Regions from separate parts of the Homo sapiens genome. Here regions 1, 2, 3, 5 and 6 are each linked to region 4. The links are contacts of gene promoters, found by promoter capture Hi-C in blood cells and fetal thymus (Javierre and others, 2016). All regions are on one chromosome and are shown on one strand. Each heading gives the region's core, a stretch centred on a gene start or on the middle of the fragment in contact. The rest is flanking DNA. Distances are from core to core; before and after follow the strand shown. Region 1 has its middle 33 kb from the start of LINC02079. Region 2 has its middle 27 kb from the start of FBXO47. Region 3 overlaps FBXO47 (F-box protein 47). Region 4 holds the start of CACNB1 (calcium voltage-gated channel auxiliary subunit beta 1). Region 5 holds the start of FBXO47 (F-box protein 47). Region 6 holds the start of FBXL20 (F-box and leucine rich repeat protein 20).

Region 1 (2,700 bases), core at 149-2,648, 140 kb after region 4:
GGGAGGCCAAGATGGGAGGATGGCTTGAGGCCAGGAGTTCAAAACCAGCATGAGCAACACAGCGAGACCTTGTCTCTACAAAAATAAATAAATAAATAAATAAAATAATAAAGTGTGGTCCAGCCAGGCAGCATTAGCATTCCCTGGGGTTAGCTGGAAATGCAGCACTCAGGCCCCCCAACCCCAGAACTACTGAGTCCGAATCTGCATTTGAGCAGCTCCTTAGGTGACTCCTGTGAAGGGCATGAAAGTTTGAGATGCACCATTTAGGAAGCAATTCTACCTACATGATCGCAGCCTGTTGGAGAAGCACTGTTTTTCCTTTCCCAGATGAGGAAACTGAGGCTCAGGGAGGTGGCTTACTTATTTATTCACTTGATCCACATTCATTAAACGCCTGTGTGCCAGGCACCATTAAGTGACTTGCACAAGGTCACACAGCTAGTAAGTAGAGAAAAACCCCAAGTGCAGATTTTTGGATTCCCATCTGAGGTTGTTCTCTGTGTACCTCAGGGTGTTGCCAGAACCACATGGCCACAGTTTAATATAGAAGCAGATTATGGATTATGACAGACAGACTGCTCCAGGCCTGTAGAGATCCTCGAAGAGATGCCTAGTGATGACTTCAGATCCTCGCTCTTGGCTCACGAAACTGTGAGCTTACCATCTATTTATTTGCACAGTCCCAGGAGCTTGAGAATGTCCTAGTTGTTGCTGCCTCCTTCTCATCCCGCTGCTCACACTAGCGACCCTCCCACATGAAGAATTAGAAGTACTCCTCACAAGCCTTACAGAGCACCAGGCGATGCCTCCATCTAATTTATCTTCTTGGATGGAGGACAATGGATTACTTCCTTCGCCAAGATGGGGCCAGAGGTGCAGGGAGGAAGGAAGAGGGGTAGAATCTTTACTTCAACTGTGAAATCCAGAGAGAAATTTTGTGGGGAATGATTTTTCTGATGTTCATAAAACATTTTTACATTTGGTCCCTAGAGATAGCTAAATTATGCCTACAGTTTTCCACAAAGCTAAAAGCACTGAAAAAAAAATCACCTGAATATGGGCCAATAAAATTTCATCATACCTTCCCAGAGTCTTGGGTTAGAACCTTCCCTTCCAGCTTGTCTTTCCCCTTTTTCAGTCTCTCCCCCTCAAAGTTTGTGTGGTTTTGTTTCTTTGTGTTTTGAGACAGGGTCTTGCTCTGTTGCCCAGACTGGAGTGCCGTAGCATGATCTCGGCTCACTGCAGCCTTTGCCTCCTGGGTTCAAGCGATTCTCCTGCCTCAGCCTCCTGAGTAGCTGGGACCACAGGTGTGTGCCACCATGCACGGCTAATTTGTGTGTATTTGTGTGTGTGTGTGTGTGTGTGTTTGAGATGGAGTTTCGCTCTTGTTGCTCAGGCTGGAGTGCAGTGGCGTGACCTCGGCTCACTGCAACCTCCACCTCCCGGGTTCAAGCGATTCTCCTGCCTCACCATCCCGAGTAGCGGGGATTATAGACATGCACCACCACGCCCAGCTAATTTTGTATTTTTAGTAGAGATGGGGTTTCTCCACGTTGGTCAGGCTGGTCTCGAACTCCCGACCTCAGGTGATCCGCCCTACTTGGCCTTCCAAAGTGCTGGGATTACAGGCATGAGCCACTGCACCCAGTCAATTTTTGTATTTGTAGTAGAGACAGGGTTTCTCCAGGTTGGCCAGGCTGGTCTTGAACTCCTGGCCTCAAGTGATACGACCACCTCAGCCTCCCAAAGTGCTGGGATTACAGGCATGAGCCATTGTGCCCGGCCTTAGATCCCATTTTTAATTAAGAGATGAAGATGCTGCTCTCAGCAAACCTGTGCACTGACTCTGCTCTCCTAAGGAACATTAAGCAATTCCAAGAGCCCCTCCTCAAGGCCAAAAGGGCAGCCTCCTGTAGGGCCTACCTTCCCGTTCTCAGAGCCTCCCTTTTCTCTCTCTTTTTTTTTCTTTCTTTTTTTTTTAGAGACAGGGTCTCAGTCTGTTGTCCAGGATTCAGTTCAGCGATGCAATCATGGCTCACTGCAGCCTTGAATTCCTGGGCTAAAGTGATCCTCCCACCTCCGCCTTCCAAGTAGCTGGGACTACAGGTGGGAACCATCATGCCTGGCTAATTATTTTATTTTTTGTAGAGATGGGGTCTTGTTTTTCTGCCTAGGCTGATCTTGAACTCCTGGGCTCAAGCAATCCTCCCATCTCAGCCTCCCAAAGTGTTGGGATTATAGGTGTGAGCCACCACGCCCGGATGGAGCATCCCCTCTCTACAGCTGCTGACACCCCTCTCTGTTCCCTGGGGCTCTTCTCCCCCAGGCCCATTACAGACTGAGCAGAATCCTCCCAGCTGTGCTCACTCTTCCCTCTGCCTCTGTAGACAAGCACTTAGCCCTCTTTAGCCGTGAAGAAGGAGCCACAACTAACAAAATTAGGCAGAGGTAAACATTACTTAAAACCAAAGGTCCTGGTCTACTGACTTTTGGACTCTGGGATGGTACTGCTGGTGGTGCTGCCGGCAGCTCACATTTACTGGGTGTTTCCTATGTTCCAAGCACATTTTAGGAGATTTACTTGTATCGTCATCTATGGGGTGGGTGCTGTTGCTACCTCTACCCTACACAGGAGGCCACTGAGGCACAGCGCAATAGGGAACTGTATGTTTTTGTATTTTTAGTACAGATAGAGTT
Region 2 (2,832 bases), core at 20-2,519, 200 kb after region 4:
AAAGATAGATGATTGATTGACAGATAAACAGGCAGATGCCAGGCATGGTGGCTGACATCAGTTGCCTCAGCCTTTTGAAAGGCTGAGATGGGAGTGATTGCTTCAGGCCAGGAGTTTGAAGCCAGCCTGGATAATAGTGAAACCCTGTCTCTACAAAATATTTTAAAATTAGCTAGGCACAGTGTCATGCACCTGTAGTCCCAGCTACTCCGGAGGCTGAGGTGGGAGGATCACTCCTTGAACCCAGGAGTTTGAGGCTGCCGTGAGTTATGATTTCACCACTGTACTCCAGCCTGGGCAACAGAGTGAGTCTTTGTCTCTAAAATTAAAAAAAAAAAAGTAAAGGTAAATAGACAAAGCAAAAATGATAAAATGTTAACAATTGTTGTAACTAGGTATTTGTGTGCTGATTGTACTGTTCTTTCACCTTTCATATACACTGACAATTTTTTGTAATGAAAAGTTATAGCTGGGTGCATTGGCTCATGCCTATAATACTAGCATTTTGGGAGGCTGAGGTGGGAGGATTGCTTGAGGCCAGGAGTTCAAGACCAGCCTGGTCAACACAGTGAGACACTGAATCTAAAAAAAAAGTTTAAAAAGTAAAGTAGCCGGGTGTAGTGGCTCACGCCTGTAATCTTAGCACTTTGGGAGGCCGAGGCAGGTGGATCACCTGAAGTCAGGAGTTCGAGACCAGCCTGGACAACATGTTGAAACCCCGTCTCTACTAAAAAATACAAAAATTAGCCAGGCGTGGTGGCACACGCCTGTAATCCCAGCTGCCCGGGAGGCTGAGGCAGGAGAATCGCTTGAATCTGGCAGGCAGCGGTTGCAGTGAGCCAAGATCGCACCATTGCACTCCAGCCTGGACGACAAGAGTGAGACTCCGTCTCGAAAAAAAAAAAAAGAGAGAGAGATACTTTATAATAGGATCAAATATATGAAGTACAGAGTAATAAATCAAACAAAAGATGTGCCAGAGCTCTCTAAGGAAAAAATAATAAAGCTTTATTAAAAGATTTAAAGAATACTAAAATAAATAGAGCACTGTGTTCATGCAATGCAAGATACACATTTATAAAAATGTCAGTTCTCCTTAAATTGATCTACAGATTCAATGCAATCTCAGTCAAAATCCCAACAGATTTTGTGAAGAATTTGACAAACTTATTCTAAAATGTAAATGAAAGTACAAAAGACCAGGAATAGCCAAGACAAAATAAAAGGACTTCCTTTCCAGATCTAGCCTCTTTAACAGTCAACAATGATTACGGAAGTGTGATATTGGAGCAAGGTCAGAAAAGTAGAGCACTGAAAACAATAGAAAGCCCAGAAATACACACCTGCCTCCATGCCACTTGACATATAACAGAGGGGGGCTTGTGGTTAGATAAGTGCAATAAATAGCACTAGGACATTGAGGATCTATACAGAAAAAAACAAAACGAACTCTACTTTTCACCACATACAAAATTCAGTTCCAGGTGAATCAGGAATCCAAATATGAAAAGTGAAAAATAACATAAAGCTTTTAGAAGATAATAAAAGAGAATATTTTCATGACCTCAGAATAGTGGAGGATTTCTTTTTCTTTCTTTCTTTTCTTTCTTTTTTTTTTTTTAGACATCGTCTTGCTTTGTCGCCCAGGCTAGAGTGTGGAGCGTAGTGATGCAATCTCGGCTCACTGCATCCTCCACCTCCCAGGTTCAAGCGATTCTCCTACCTCAGCCTCCTGAGTAGTTGGGATTACAGCTATGTGCCACCATGCCCGGCTAATTTTTGTATTTTTAGTAGAGACGGGGTTTCACCTTGGCCAGGCTGGTCTTGAACTCCTGACCTCCAGTGATCTGCCCACCTCAGTCTGCCAACGTGCAGGGATTACAGGTGTGAGCCACCACGCCCCACCAGAATAGTGGAGGATTTCTTAAACAGGAGGCAGAAAGGCAATGTTGCTCTCCAGGGCACTTTCGGCAATGTCTGGAGACATTTTTGGTTATCATAATTTGGGCAGAAGGGTGCTATTGGTATCTAATGGACAGAGGCCAGGGATGCTGGTAAACCTCCTACAATATACAGGACAGCCCCCAACACACACACACGCGCACACACACACACACACACACACAGAGTCACACACACAAAAAAAACAAGGAATTTTCCAGCCCAAAATGTCAATAGTGCCAAGATTGAGACATTCTACTACGTTCATACTAAAGAACATCTGTTCATGAAAAGATACCATTAAGAGACTAAAAATTATCTAGGATACAGAAAGAAGCACAATCAATAAAAAGACAACACAATGGGAAAATGGGAAGACATGGGTATATCCTTCAGAAAAAAGGAAATCCAAAGACTAACAAACCAAACATACAAAAAAGATGCCCAACCTAAGTAGTAATCAGAGAAATATAAATTAAAAATCATTGGCCAGGTACAGTGGCTCATGCCTGTAATCCCAACATTTTGGGAGGCTGAGGTGGGAGGATTGCTTGAGGCCAGGAGTTGGAGACCAGCTTGGGTAATGTAGGGAGACCACTGTCTCTACCAAAAAGAATTAGGCAGCCATGGCAGTGTGCATCTGTAGTCCCAGCTCCTCAGGAGGCTGAGGCAGAAGGATCACTTGAGCCCAGGAGTTCAAGGTTACAGTGAGTTATGAAAGTAACACTGCACTCCAACATCGGTGACAGCAACTCTAAATAATAATAATAATAATGAGATACAATTTACAACTATGGGACAGGCGCGGTGGCACACGCCTGTAATCTCAGCACTTTGGGAGGCCGAGTGGGCGGATCACCTGAGGTCAGGAGTTTGGGACCAGCCTGGCCA
Region 3 (2,700 bases), core at 143-2,642, 250 kb after region 4:
AGGGTTTCACCGTGTTAGCCAGGTTGGTCTCGATCTCCTGACCTCGTGATCTGCCCGCCTCAGCCTCCCAAAGTGCTGGGATTACAGGTGTGAGCCACGGCACCCGGCCAATTTTTTTTGTATTTTTAGTAGAGACAGGGTTTCGCCATATTGGCCAGGCTGGTCTTGAACTCCTGACCTCAAGTGATCCTCCCACCTCGGCTTCACAACGTGCTGGCATTACAGGCAAGAGTCACCACACCTGCCATAAAACTTTCATAGAGGAAAATGAAGTGACACTTTCAGTACAAAGTATATTAATGATATATGTCTTTGACCTTTCTCTGCATTTATTTCTTTTTAAATCCAAAATTGTACAAGAGTCTGGTAAGCTTAAGCATGTCTTTTGATTGATTGACCCATTATTCAAAATATTGACTATAAATCAGGAAGGTAAAAGTAAGTAAGTAGATAGACAAATTATGAAGTTAGGGGAGTTTAAGAATAGATAATCTCTTGGTTACTTCCTGTTTAGAAACCTAGTTTACTATCACTAACCATAATGATTAATAAGTTGCTTTGATCACTATTCAATATGCACAGCAGCCTTTCTACGAAGAATGATTTACAATTCTTTTGTCTTCATAGGAAGTGCCCAAAAACTGGAGTTAAGAATCAGACTCTTCTGTAGGAATGTCCTCCTTGATCATTGGACACATCGAAGTGATTCTGCTTTTTGGTTGACGCGAATATTAAAACCATGGCCAATGGTGAATCAGGCAAGATTACTGTATATCATCTTTGGGCCAATATCTCCTCAAGATGGTGAGCACCCATCTTTCAGGGTTGTAACATAACTGGTTCATTATTTTTACTTTAGGAAGCATATATATATTTAGGAAGCATATATTATACACACACACACACACACACACATGCATGCACGCACACAGTGGTGCGATCATGGCTCACTGCAACCTCCACCTCCCGGGTTCAAGCGATTCTCCTGCCTCAGCCTCCCAAGTAGCTGGGACTGCAGGTGCGTGCAACCACAACCAGCTAATTTTTTTTTTTTTTTTTTTTTGAGACGGAGTCTGCTCTGTCACCCAGGCTGGAGTGCAGTGGCGCAATCTCGGCTCACTGCGAGCTCCAATTCCCGGGTTCACACCATTCTCCTGCCTCAGCCACCCGAGTAGCTGGGATTACAGGCGCCTGCCACCATGCCTGGCTAATTTTTTGTATTTTTAGTAGAGATGGGGTTTCACCGTGTTAGCCAGAATGGTCTCGATCTCCTGACCTTGTGATCTTCCCACCTCGGCCTTCCAAAGTGCTGGGATTACAGATGTGAGCCACCGCGCCTGGCCAGTTTTTTGTATTTTTAGTAAAGACGGGGTTTCACCGTGTTATCCAGGATGGTCTCGATCTCCTGCAGGGTCCCACTTTGGTACCCAGGTTGCTCTCAACCTCTTGGGCTCAAGTGATCCTCCCACCTTGGCCTCCCCAAGTGCTAGAATTACATACATGAGCTACTGTGCCTGGCCAAGAAGCATACACACACACACACACACACACACACACACACACACACACACATGTTTTTTTTGAGACAGAGTCTCGCTGTGTTGCCCAGGCTGGAGTTCAGTGGCCCAATCTCCACTCACTGCAACCTCCGCCTCCCAGGTTCAAGCGATTCTCGTGCCTCAGCCTCCTGAGTAGCTGGGACTACAGGCGTGCACCACCATGCCTGGCTAATTTTTATATTTTTAGTAGAGACAGGGTTTCACAGGCTGGTCTCGAACTCCGTACCTCAAGTGATCCTCCTACCTCGGCCTCCTAAAGTGCTGGGATTACAGGCATGAGCCACCACGCCCGGCCAGAGACGTTCAAATCTATACTATTACCAGAATTGACTTCTTGTTTCAAAAGTTAAAATGAAAGTAGCTTGTATAAGTAATGGGATTCCATTGTGCAATTCACTTTCCTTTTTAAACAAGTCTTTATCACAAAGCCAACTATTCTGTCATAGCCTCGTTTTTGTTTCAATTCAGGACAGGTGGTTTGGCAGGAAATGATAGAAGAACCTACAGATGAATTCAGTCTGAAAGGTTTGGCTGATGCCATTAAGTTACTATATGACGCTAGCACTAAAGAGTGGACAGCAGATGATGTTATCAGTCTTGTAGATGAACTATCAGGTAAAAAATATATTTACTAACATAGAATAATAGAAATTTATTGTTAAAATGCAGTTATAAAATTATAAGGATAATTCTACAGGTAACAAATGATGTGCCTGTTGGAAATCACTGAATGCTCTAAAATATTTAAAGAGTTTGGCATTATGTTTGAAGAGAATGCATATAATCAACTTACTTTCCTTTGCTTGCCAATTTTATAAATAAACATTTATTATTATTATTATTTGAAAGCTTCTTCATTTAATTAGCTCAATTACTCCCATGTTGTAAATTCTCAGAAACACCCTCCTAGGTTCTGTAAAAAGCCCTCTTCTGTGAGTAAAGGAAAGGTGAAACAATTATTCCTATTCCTGCATAATCCTTTAGATTCTAAAGTTTACAAGGATGCTTTCCTTGCACAGGATTAGAACACTTTGCCTGCTGACCTATGTGTAGGAGAATTGCTTTGTTTATATTATTAGTACATTTGTAAGAGCCTCCATGACATGGCAATAACCTGTCTCTGACTGAATGCCATAATTGG
Region 4 (2,858 bases), core at 320-2,819:
ATGATTGGTTCCTGCTGATCACCCTATCCGTTTCATCTCAACTTTCCTGGCTGAGAAAGTAGAAGAGAGAGAAAGGGAAGCAACATTTATGCTACTTCCTCACAACAACACGATTAGCGTTGCCCTCATTTTACAGCTAAGGTAACAGATTCAGAACACAGATATTTCTGATTGCAAAGCCCATACTTTTGCGGTTATGCCAGCCTTTCTTGTCTCCAAGGGGCAGGTGGAAACCCTGCTCAGGGTTGGAACTCTCCTGGAACGTTTCTAATGGGCTTCATCTTCACTCACTGCTCCGCCTTCCCCAAGGTGTTGTGATCAGAGGAATGACAGACTGACCATTCACTTGCTATTAGAGTTGGGTGAGGAGGAGGAGTCCCATAGTCTCCTGTCCTGCGGAACACAGCAAGGTGGTGGCCTTATTGTAAGGTCACTTGACCTGGAGAGGGTCTTCTCCATCTCTCCTTTCTGTGGAGCAGGAGAAGGGGTGGAGTAGGAAGGGAATGGGTCCTCCTGTCATGAGTGACCCCTTCATTGAAACTTACAGCTTCTCCAAACACCCCAGCAATTCATTTAATTCTCCCTCATCCTCCCAATAATACCAGGTGACACAGACTCCACAGTACCAGCAACCCCATTTTATAGGAGAGGAGGAAACTGATGCTCAGAGAGGTGATTTGTCCGGGGCTATACAACCAGAAACAGCCTGAGCCAAATTGGCGCCAGAGTCTATTGCCCAGAATCTCCTATTCCTCTTCTCTCCACCAGTCATGGTGGGTGGCATCCAGATCTTGGATGTTTCTCCCTAAATCAGGGGTAAAGGTGGCGCAATTCTAGGTCAAAGGTCATGAGATCTGATTTTACCAGCTTCTCCTCTCTCAGCTCCATATTTCTTCCTCTTTTCTCATCCAAGAGCAGGGACCTCACCCAGCCCCATTCCTGGCCTTTTGGAAGAACAGGGGTTGGGGGGGCGGTGTATCCTAGTGACTGATTAGGGCAGAACTCCTGGACCCCTGGGATTTATTTTGCTGTCTCTATTGGACACCCTCCCCATCTCAGCCTCAGCCTCCCACCGGCAGCCCCAGAGCCATGTTGGAGGGAGAGGCTTTTCTGTTTGGTTTGAGGCAGCCTGGGCCCCACACTGGGGAGAAAGGAGTTAAAGCCAGGTCCCAGGATCACCGGGACCGGGAAGTTCCGGTGGTCCAAACAGGAGTGGGTTGGGGGGACCCGCAGGAAGAGAGGTTTGGGACAAAAGGGGGGTGGTGCCAGCCATGCCAATCCCCATCAGCGCTCGGCATCCACTGGTAGACCGCCCCCCCACCCCTCCCCCAAGTTCCACGCCTAGTTTCTGCCTTCCCGCCCCAGCGGGCCGCCTGCACCCCACGGCCAGTCAGAGGCCCACCTGCGGCCACCTAGAGCCGAGAGGGGCTTGCCTCCCTGCTGCCGCACGCCCATTGTGTGCGCCGAGCCGGCGGAGGGGCTGCGAGGGGCGGGGCCGGGCGGGCGGAGGGAGGGAGCGAGGGAGGGGCGCGGGGAGATGCTGAGCCTACGGGGGAGGCGGCGGCGGCAGTGGAGAGAGCGGGAGGAGCGAGGGAAGGCAGGAAGGAGGCAGCCGAAGGCCGAGCTGGGTGGCTGGACCGGGTGCTGGCTGCGCCGCGCTGCTTTCGGCTCCCACGGCCTCTCCCATGCGCTGAGGGAGCCCGGCTGGGCCGGGCCGGCGGCGGGAGGGGAGGCTCCTCTCCATGGTCCAGAAGACCAGCATGTCCCGGGGCCCTTACCCACCCTCCCAGGAGATCCCCATGGAGGTCTTCGACCCCAGCCCGCAGGTGAGGCGTGGTGGCCCGGCCCAACGGGAGGGGGTCGCTCCCGCGGACCGTGTTAAGGTCGGCTCGAGAGGCGCGGGAGAGGAAGGGGTTATATGCCGGGCGCGGAGGAGAGAGGGATGCCTGCGCGCCCCCCATCCTTGCAGGTTGTGATTGATGGGCGCTGGGCCTGGGGCTGGGTGGCGATGCTGCGGAGCGGGGAGGGGGCGGGTGGGCTGCCTGTCACCCTCGCCTCCTTATCTCCCCCGCGTCAAGGTTCCTGCCGCTTGGGCACCAGCTTCAGTGGGCTGAGCGTGGGGGTGCTGGTGGAGGGGGATCTGGGCCTTGAGAAGGGGAGGTTGAAAGAGGCTAGAAAGCGAGCCAGGCAAGGGGGGCGACGCAGAGCACGCTCGGGGGCGCCAGGCGGGTGTGGGTGGGGCGGGGGTGGCACGAGGAGGTGGCCGAGGCGATGGTCAGAGGGCGGTGCCAAATGCCAACAGGCCTTCAAAGCCGCAGACACTGGTTCTCGAGGGTGGGGAAAGAGCCAACCCCGGTCGAGGTCCCCTCCCAGCCACCTGGGCTCCATCTCTATGTCGGACCTGCTCCCCTCCCCCCACACCCACGTTGACTTACCCCACCCCCACCCCCGCCCCAAAAACGCCTCCAAAGTTTGGAAAGTTGGATGGATGCCAACTCATAGGAGGGGGGGAAGCTGTTTTACCTGGGGGAGGGGTCTACTTCTCCATCCCCACCCGCACACTTTTCCTACACCCCTGGTTACTCCCAGGAAGTGGCATTCTTGGGCGCGGTGGGTTCTCATGGGGTGACCAGCAGGCTCTGGGATGGTCGCGCCAGGGGATTTCTTTGGGAGTGTCCTTCTCCAAGGATAGCATTAACTCTTCTGTTACTGTGGCCACCAGCTGTAACCACCATGATAATGTGACTGATGGGTATGTAGAGGGGTCAAGTCAGACCTAAAAATACCTTCCTCCACCCCAGGCCCCTTTGAGCCTGGGAGGCAGCTGACTGGGGCCTTCCTTTCAGCTGTCCCCTGTC
Region 5 (2,709 bases), core at 102-2,601, 230 kb after region 4:
GCAGTGCTGAGGTACGCAGGTCACCTGAGGTCAGGAAAAAAAAAGATACAAAGCCAAATGGATGAATATATGTGACTATATAAAATAACAGCATGCCAACTAATCCTAAATTTCCACTCAGTCTTTATGTAGTTCCTTATATATTTTGTGTTGGGTATAATGTAGAATTGATCTACAAAAGTAGAATCTTTCCCCCATTCCCTCTTCCCTCAGCCCTTCTCCTGACTGGCTCCTTCTCCTCCATCAGTTCTCAAATCGTCATATCAAAGGGACCTTGAGTATCAGTCTATCTAAAGTAGCTCTCCGCCAACACACACACACCCCATCATTCTGTCTTATTTCCTCTGTCACGCTGCTCTCACCGGAACTGCTCTCAACATCTGTAGATGCTCTGTCTGTTCATTCTATCTTCCCCATTAGGCTAATAAACTCCATTAAAGCAGGAAACGTATCTGTCTTGTTCTCTATTCCATCCTTAGGGCCTACTCCTGTGCCCGGCCCAGAGCAGGCTTCAATAAATAGTTACAGAATGAATGAAGAAATGAATGAATGAGAATTTAATCTTCTAGCCAGGAAGGCCTAGCTAGAAAGATTTGTCTTGATTTCATCTTGAGAGGATGGAGACACACATCTTCCTTTGATTCCAGACAGATTTATTATTTATGTGTTTATTTAGAGACCGGGAGCGGGGTTATGGCTGGGGGTGGGGGTCTCCCTATGTTGCCCAGGCTGGTCTCAAACTCCTGGACTCAAGGGAGCCTCCCGCCTCGGCCTCCCAAAGTGTTGGGATTACAGGCGTGAGCCACCGCACCGGCAAGACAAATTTAAAAAGGAATGTCTGGAGGTTTTTTTCCACCAAAAGGTTTGATGAAACCCCTTGTAACTTGCCCTACTGGAGTCAGTGGGGGTGGGAGGAACTCAAAAATTGTCTCAAAACTAGGTGAAGGGAAAGGCAGTGGAGCAGAGACGTGGCTCGCCACGTTCAGGATCTTGGGCTACACCCTCCCCTTCCCCACACCGTAACGGCTCCAGCCCCTTCTTGTCTTCAGCTTGGAGCGAAGGGTGGCTGAGGCCTGAGTTTGGGCTCCAGGAACCTCGCCCTTGTTAGTTATTCATGAGACGGAGGGCACCATGGGAGCTGGCTCTCTTGCTATTCATAAAGCGGGGAGGCGGGAGGCGGGGGGGAACCTCCTTCCCGCTAGGGCTTCTGGGAAGATCTACAATATTCATGAGGGAGGCGGGCACTACGAGAGCTGAGGCTGCTTGCTATTCATGAGGGGGCGGGCCTCCTTCCCGCGGGGGCTCTTGGGAAGATTCTACAATATTCTAGAGGCCGCGGGGACGCCTGGTGGGTAGGGCTGCAGCTCCGGAGCCTACGGGAGTGTGACCCTCTCGCCTCCTGGCGGGAAGCTCTTGAGGAGATATTTTCTTTTCTAAACACTAAGAAATTTGAGGATGGTGGGGCAAAACGACTAACTCCCACTTTCCTGTGACTCTGTAGCCGGAAAAACTGTCAAAATCTGTGGTAAAAGAGGGTTTTTTTTCCCAGTATTTTATTGCGATAATTTCATCTTTCATGGACTGAAGGGAGCGAAACATGTACCCCGTGTGGTCTGATTCTCCTGTTGACCAGTTTGTCCTTTAGGCTTCCCTAGTTTGCGGCTTTGGAGATGTTTGGGGGCAGCTGCCCGACAGATGGGGTGGGGCCCTTACAAGAGTTTTATGTTAAAACAGACATCCCTGTGAATGTAGTTTTTATCTTAAAGGTGTGGGGGGCGGGGAGGTTCATCCAATTGAACCCTCAAAACCTTTCACGCGCGGTCAAAATTAGTGGGATAGAACAGGGGGCATGAAACATCATTTTATTATTATTATTTGGGGCTGTGATTCTTATTCGCTAGAGGGGTGAGCGGAAACCAGAAATAATTTAGGATTATACCTTTAGAATTTTCACAAAAGCTTGCTTTTTCCCTACGAAACGTCCAGCTCTGAGTGAGGAAAATAAGGAACTATAAGTGGAGACTTGAGTTTTAGAAGAATTTGGGCTTATCATTTTTAAATTTTTGTTTATATTTATTTTAAACATGTATGTAGTTCACAGTTGACACAGTGAAGTCCCCGCCTGGTGACTGACAGTCTTTGAAGAGCCCACGGGCCCAAGCCCCACTGTCCACATTTCTCAGAGAAACAGGAAGAAGCCAAGGCCGGATTTATGCTATTGTAATAAAAATGCTTTAAAACACCTACTGTGTTGGCCGGGTGCGGTGGCTCACGCCTGTAAATCCCAGCACTTTGGGAGGCCGGGGCAGGCGGATCACGAGGTCAGGAAATCGAGACCAGGCTGGCTAACACGGTGAAACCCCGTCTCTACTAAAAATACAGAAATTAGCTGGGCGTGGGGGCGGGCACCTGTAATCCCAGCTACTAGGGAGGCTGAGGCAGGAGAATCGCTTGAACCCGGGAGGCGGAGCTTGCAGTGAGCCGAGATCGCGCCACTGCACTCCAGCCCAGGAGACTGTGCGAAACTCCATCGCAAACAAACAAACAAAACGCCTACTGTGAAAAGTTAAGGTTACAAACAGCCTTATGGATTAAACAAATTAAGATTATTTTACTTGGTGGAATGACACATAGCCATTAAAATATGATTACTTGTAGAAGGTTATTAGCATGGAAAGAGAATTCATTGAAAAAAGCAGATTACAAAGT
Region 6 (2,700 bases), core at 201-2,700, 200 kb before region 4:
CTTAGACGCATAACAAGTCAGTCGCTAAAACCACTAATTAAAAGGGGTGTGAGGAAGACCAACTCATAACTGCTTTGGAAGCATACAATTAGCAGTGCTGCTGCTCCTGCCAGGTGTGCTGGAATTTATTATACAGTTTCTAATAGTTCACTCTTAGGACATAATTTTGTAGTTTGTTGCTCATAGAAGGGGCAACAAAACTACAAAATCCTGTGTTATTCCTTCGTGGAAATTCGGTCATAAATTCTGAGACCTTGAAGGCCAGAGTTGTTAAAACATAATATAATATGATGACACAGATCAGCTTCTATACAAGGAGCCCGGGAGTCTGATGAAGTGTTTCCATCGGGAAAACGCCCCCGCCTACTCGCTCACACACGCTTGTTTCTCCCGCCAAAGTGACGTCAGGCCGAAGCTCTCACCAAACAGCGCCCTGATTGGCGGACAGGCAGGCGCTGCAGCCCATTGGGCGCCGGCGGCGGCCGAGCAAGGAAAACCAAAGGCTCTTCGGTCTCGCCCGCCCCACCCCCACGGACGCGCGCCCCGACCCCGGCCAAAGGAAGGGTTGCCCGGCTCCAGCCCTGCACCCCCGACCCCCGGCCTCAGGTGCAGCTCCGCAGCCATCCCCGGACCAGGGCGGGCACTTGGCCTGTTGCTCAGCGCAACCACCCTCGCCCTCCCGAGCCATGCACAGGGAGACAAGCGTCCGGCCCCGGCCCCCCAGGCCTCCCTGCAGCACCCCGTAATGTAATGCACTGGGGCGGGGGAGGCGGGGGAGGCGGCGGCGGCGGCAACCGCGGAGGCGCGGCGGCAGCCGCACTGCCCCAATCTAGACACATCCAGAAGAGGAGGAAAATGGCTCCGAGCAGGGACCGCCTGCTGCACTTTGGGTTCAAGGCGACAGTGAGTGACAGGGGAAGGGAGCTGGGTGGCCGGGAAGGATGCGGGTGCCTTACAGGATCCTGGGGAACAAGTGACGAGGGGCGACGGGCGCGGGCAGAGGCTGAGGTTCTGTGCAGGCAGGTGCGTGCCTGTTTGCCCGCGGAGGGAGGAGAGGGGGACACGGGGCAGAAGAGGGGCCCCCGCGCAGAGTGCGGTACTGCTCTACTCTCCCTCGCTGGTCCGCGAGCACGCGCGCACTCGCATCCGCCCCACAGACCCCCTTTTCCACACGCACAGGCACTTCCCTGCCTCGCCTTCTCCCGATGGGCTCGTCTGCCTCGGAGGCGCAGGGGGTCGTGCCGCCGCCGCGCACCGGCTGCTCCCGGGAGCGCCGTCAGGGCCGGCCCCGTGTGGGGGAGGGGTGGTCTCGCGCCGCCGCCGCCGCGCTCCTCCCCTCCCGCCCCTCCCCCTCCCGGGCGCTCCGAGGCCCGGGCGGCTCTGTCCAATGAGCAGCGGCGTTGCTGGCAGGTGGGGAGTGTTTTTGTTTTGGGTTGAAGTTGAGGCTGAGGAGAGAGCCGAGCTAGCGACGAGCAGTCGTTGCGGCCGCCGGCGCCGCGGGAGGTGGTGGAGGCCTAGCCGGAGCCGAGAGGTCTCTTGTTCCCGTCCCACGGTCCCGGCGTCACCCCTCCGGCGCCCAGTCCCCGTCCCGGAACTCCCGGGCCTGTCCTGGGCCCCCGGTCTGTGCACTCCGCTCGCCGCAGCGCCCGGCCCGGGCCGCACCCGCCGGCCCCATGAGGAGGGACGTGAACGGAGTGACCAAGAGCAGGTTTGAGGTGTGAGCTTGGGGGGCTCGGGCGGCGTGAGGAGGGCGGGTCGCGCGCTCTAATCCCAAAACGTCCGCTCCGCACGGAGCCTCCTCCCTGGCAGGCGCCGTCACCCACCCACTGGCGGGGCTGCCAGACTCCGCTCCCCTTTCTTGCGACCCAGAAGCCCAGCGCAGCCCGGTGCCCCCAGTCCCCTCGCCGGTTCGCCCCCCGTCTCTTCCCACCAGCGGGCCCCCGCGGGGGATTAGCTCGGGCGCCCTAATTCCACCCTCCTCCAGGATCGCTCAGCTTTCCATTCTTTACACAACCCTTGGCTTGCCTCCTTCCACCCAGCCATCACGGCTCCGGTCCACCAGAGCCTGCTGCTTTTCTCGCTGCTACCTTCATGACGCGTTTGTTGTCTGTTGAGGGAGGAAATTAGGGGATGGGTACCATTTCTCCGAGTTTGAGACCTTGGTGAAACTAGGGAAGTGGGGACGGTAGTTTGGGATGATAGAGGCTACCACGGGTTTTCGGTGCTGTGTTTGGTTTGGGTATTGTTCTGATACTTCCTCTGCTTTCCCGTTTAGTCTGTACTTCTGTAGCTCATTGTTCCTTGGGAACCCTTGGATGTCTACATGCTTTGAGATTGGGACGAAAGTTCAGCAAATCCATTCCGGTCTGTCTTTCAGGAACTTTTTCTCCTCTAGCGAGGGAGGTTTACTGTCCTGGAATTGAGGAGTGGACGGTCTTGAAAGCGTCTTTAGAGAGTAGTCATCTTGCAAGGAAGAGATTCCTTTGGGAAGTGAAATATTGTAACTACTGATGAATTACAGTAGTATAACAATATACTGGAAGGTTCCTTGAGGGTCAAGAGAAAGAAACTTCTACAGGAAGAGTAAATGTCACCTGGTCTTTTCTGGCAGAGAACCAGGCTGACCTGGGATCACTCACAGCTCAGTGGACAATCTCACTCGGTGTTTTTCTTCATCTCCATTTGAGAGATGAAATTGTA

The links. The method cuts DNA at HindIII sites, captures the fragments that hold promoters and counts their contacts. A CHiCAGO score of 5 or more calls a contact.
Region 1: a fragment that was not itself captured here is called in contact with the fragment with the promoter of CACNB1 in region 4 in 1 of 17 cell types (non-activated CD4 T cells); the score reaches 5.3 in non-activated CD4 T cells.
Region 2: a contact is called between a fragment that was not itself captured here and the fragment with the promoter of CACNB1 in region 4, in 14 of 17 cell types (total CD8 T cells, naive CD4 T cells, monocytes and 11 more). The highest score is 9.4, in total CD8 T cells.
Region 3: a fragment that was not itself captured here is called in contact with the fragment with the promoter of CACNB1 in region 4 in 1 of 17 cell types (monocytes); the score reaches 5.7 in monocytes.
Region 5: a contact is called between the fragment with the promoter of FBXO47 here and the fragment with the promoter of CACNB1 in region 4, in 6 of 17 cell types (total CD8 T cells, naive CD8 T cells, activated CD4 T cells and 3 more). The highest score is 6.8, in total CD8 T cells.
Region 6: the fragment with the promoter of FBXL20 here is called in contact with the fragment with the promoter of CACNB1 in region 4 in 4 of 17 cell types (megakaryocytes, naive CD4 T cells, monocytes and 1 more); the score reaches 7.9 in megakaryocytes.

The regions. Positions count from the first base shown.
Region 1 is chr17:39,058,472-39,061,171 of GRCh38, reverse strand. It overlaps the pseudogene RDM1P5. Among named protein-coding and RNA genes, the nearest start is that of LINC02079, 33 kb to the right of the region's middle. The HindIII fragment of the contact is 3,067 bases long and covers 1-2,700 here.
Region 2 is chr17:38,992,692-38,995,523 of GRCh38, reverse strand. No RefSeq gene overlaps it. Among named protein-coding and RNA genes, the nearest start is that of FBXO47, 27 kb to the right of the region's middle. The HindIII fragment of the contact is 522 bases long and covers 1,009-1,530 here.
Region 3 is chr17:38,943,064-38,945,763 of GRCh38, reverse strand. It overlaps FBXO47 (F-box protein 47), which reads left to right. Exons shown (of 11, transcript NM_001008777.3): 7 at 628-804; 8 at 2,028-2,174. Among named protein-coding and RNA genes, the nearest start is that of LASP1NB, 19 kb to the right of the region's middle. The HindIII fragment of the contact is 2,037 bases long and covers 374-2,410 here.
Region 4 is chr17:39,196,380-39,199,237 of GRCh38, reverse strand. CACNB1 (calcium voltage-gated channel auxiliary subunit beta 1) reads left to right here and starts at 1,569. Exons shown (of 14, transcript NM_000723.5): 1 at 1,569-1,826. The coding sequence starts at 1,743. RefSeq lists silencers at 1,272-1,401, 1,412-1,811, 2,242-2,371. The HindIII fragment of the contact is 8,246 bases long and covers 1-2,858 here.
Region 5 is chr17:38,966,045-38,968,753 of GRCh38, reverse strand. FBXO47 (F-box protein 47) reads left to right here and starts at 1,351. Exons shown (of 11, transcript NM_001008777.3): 1 at 1,351-1,525. The HindIII fragment of the contact is 5,025 bases long and covers 1-1,961 here.
Region 6 is chr17:39,400,376-39,403,075 of GRCh38, reverse strand. It overlaps FBXL20 (F-box and leucine rich repeat protein 20), which reads left to right and starts at 1,450. Exons shown (of 15, transcript NM_032875.3): 1 at 1,450-1,715. The coding sequence starts at 1,674. RefSeq lists silencers at 301-465, 431-820, 1,071-1,150, 1,181-1,380, 1,411-1,840 and 1 more. The HindIII fragment of the contact is 7,755 bases long and covers 1-2,700 here.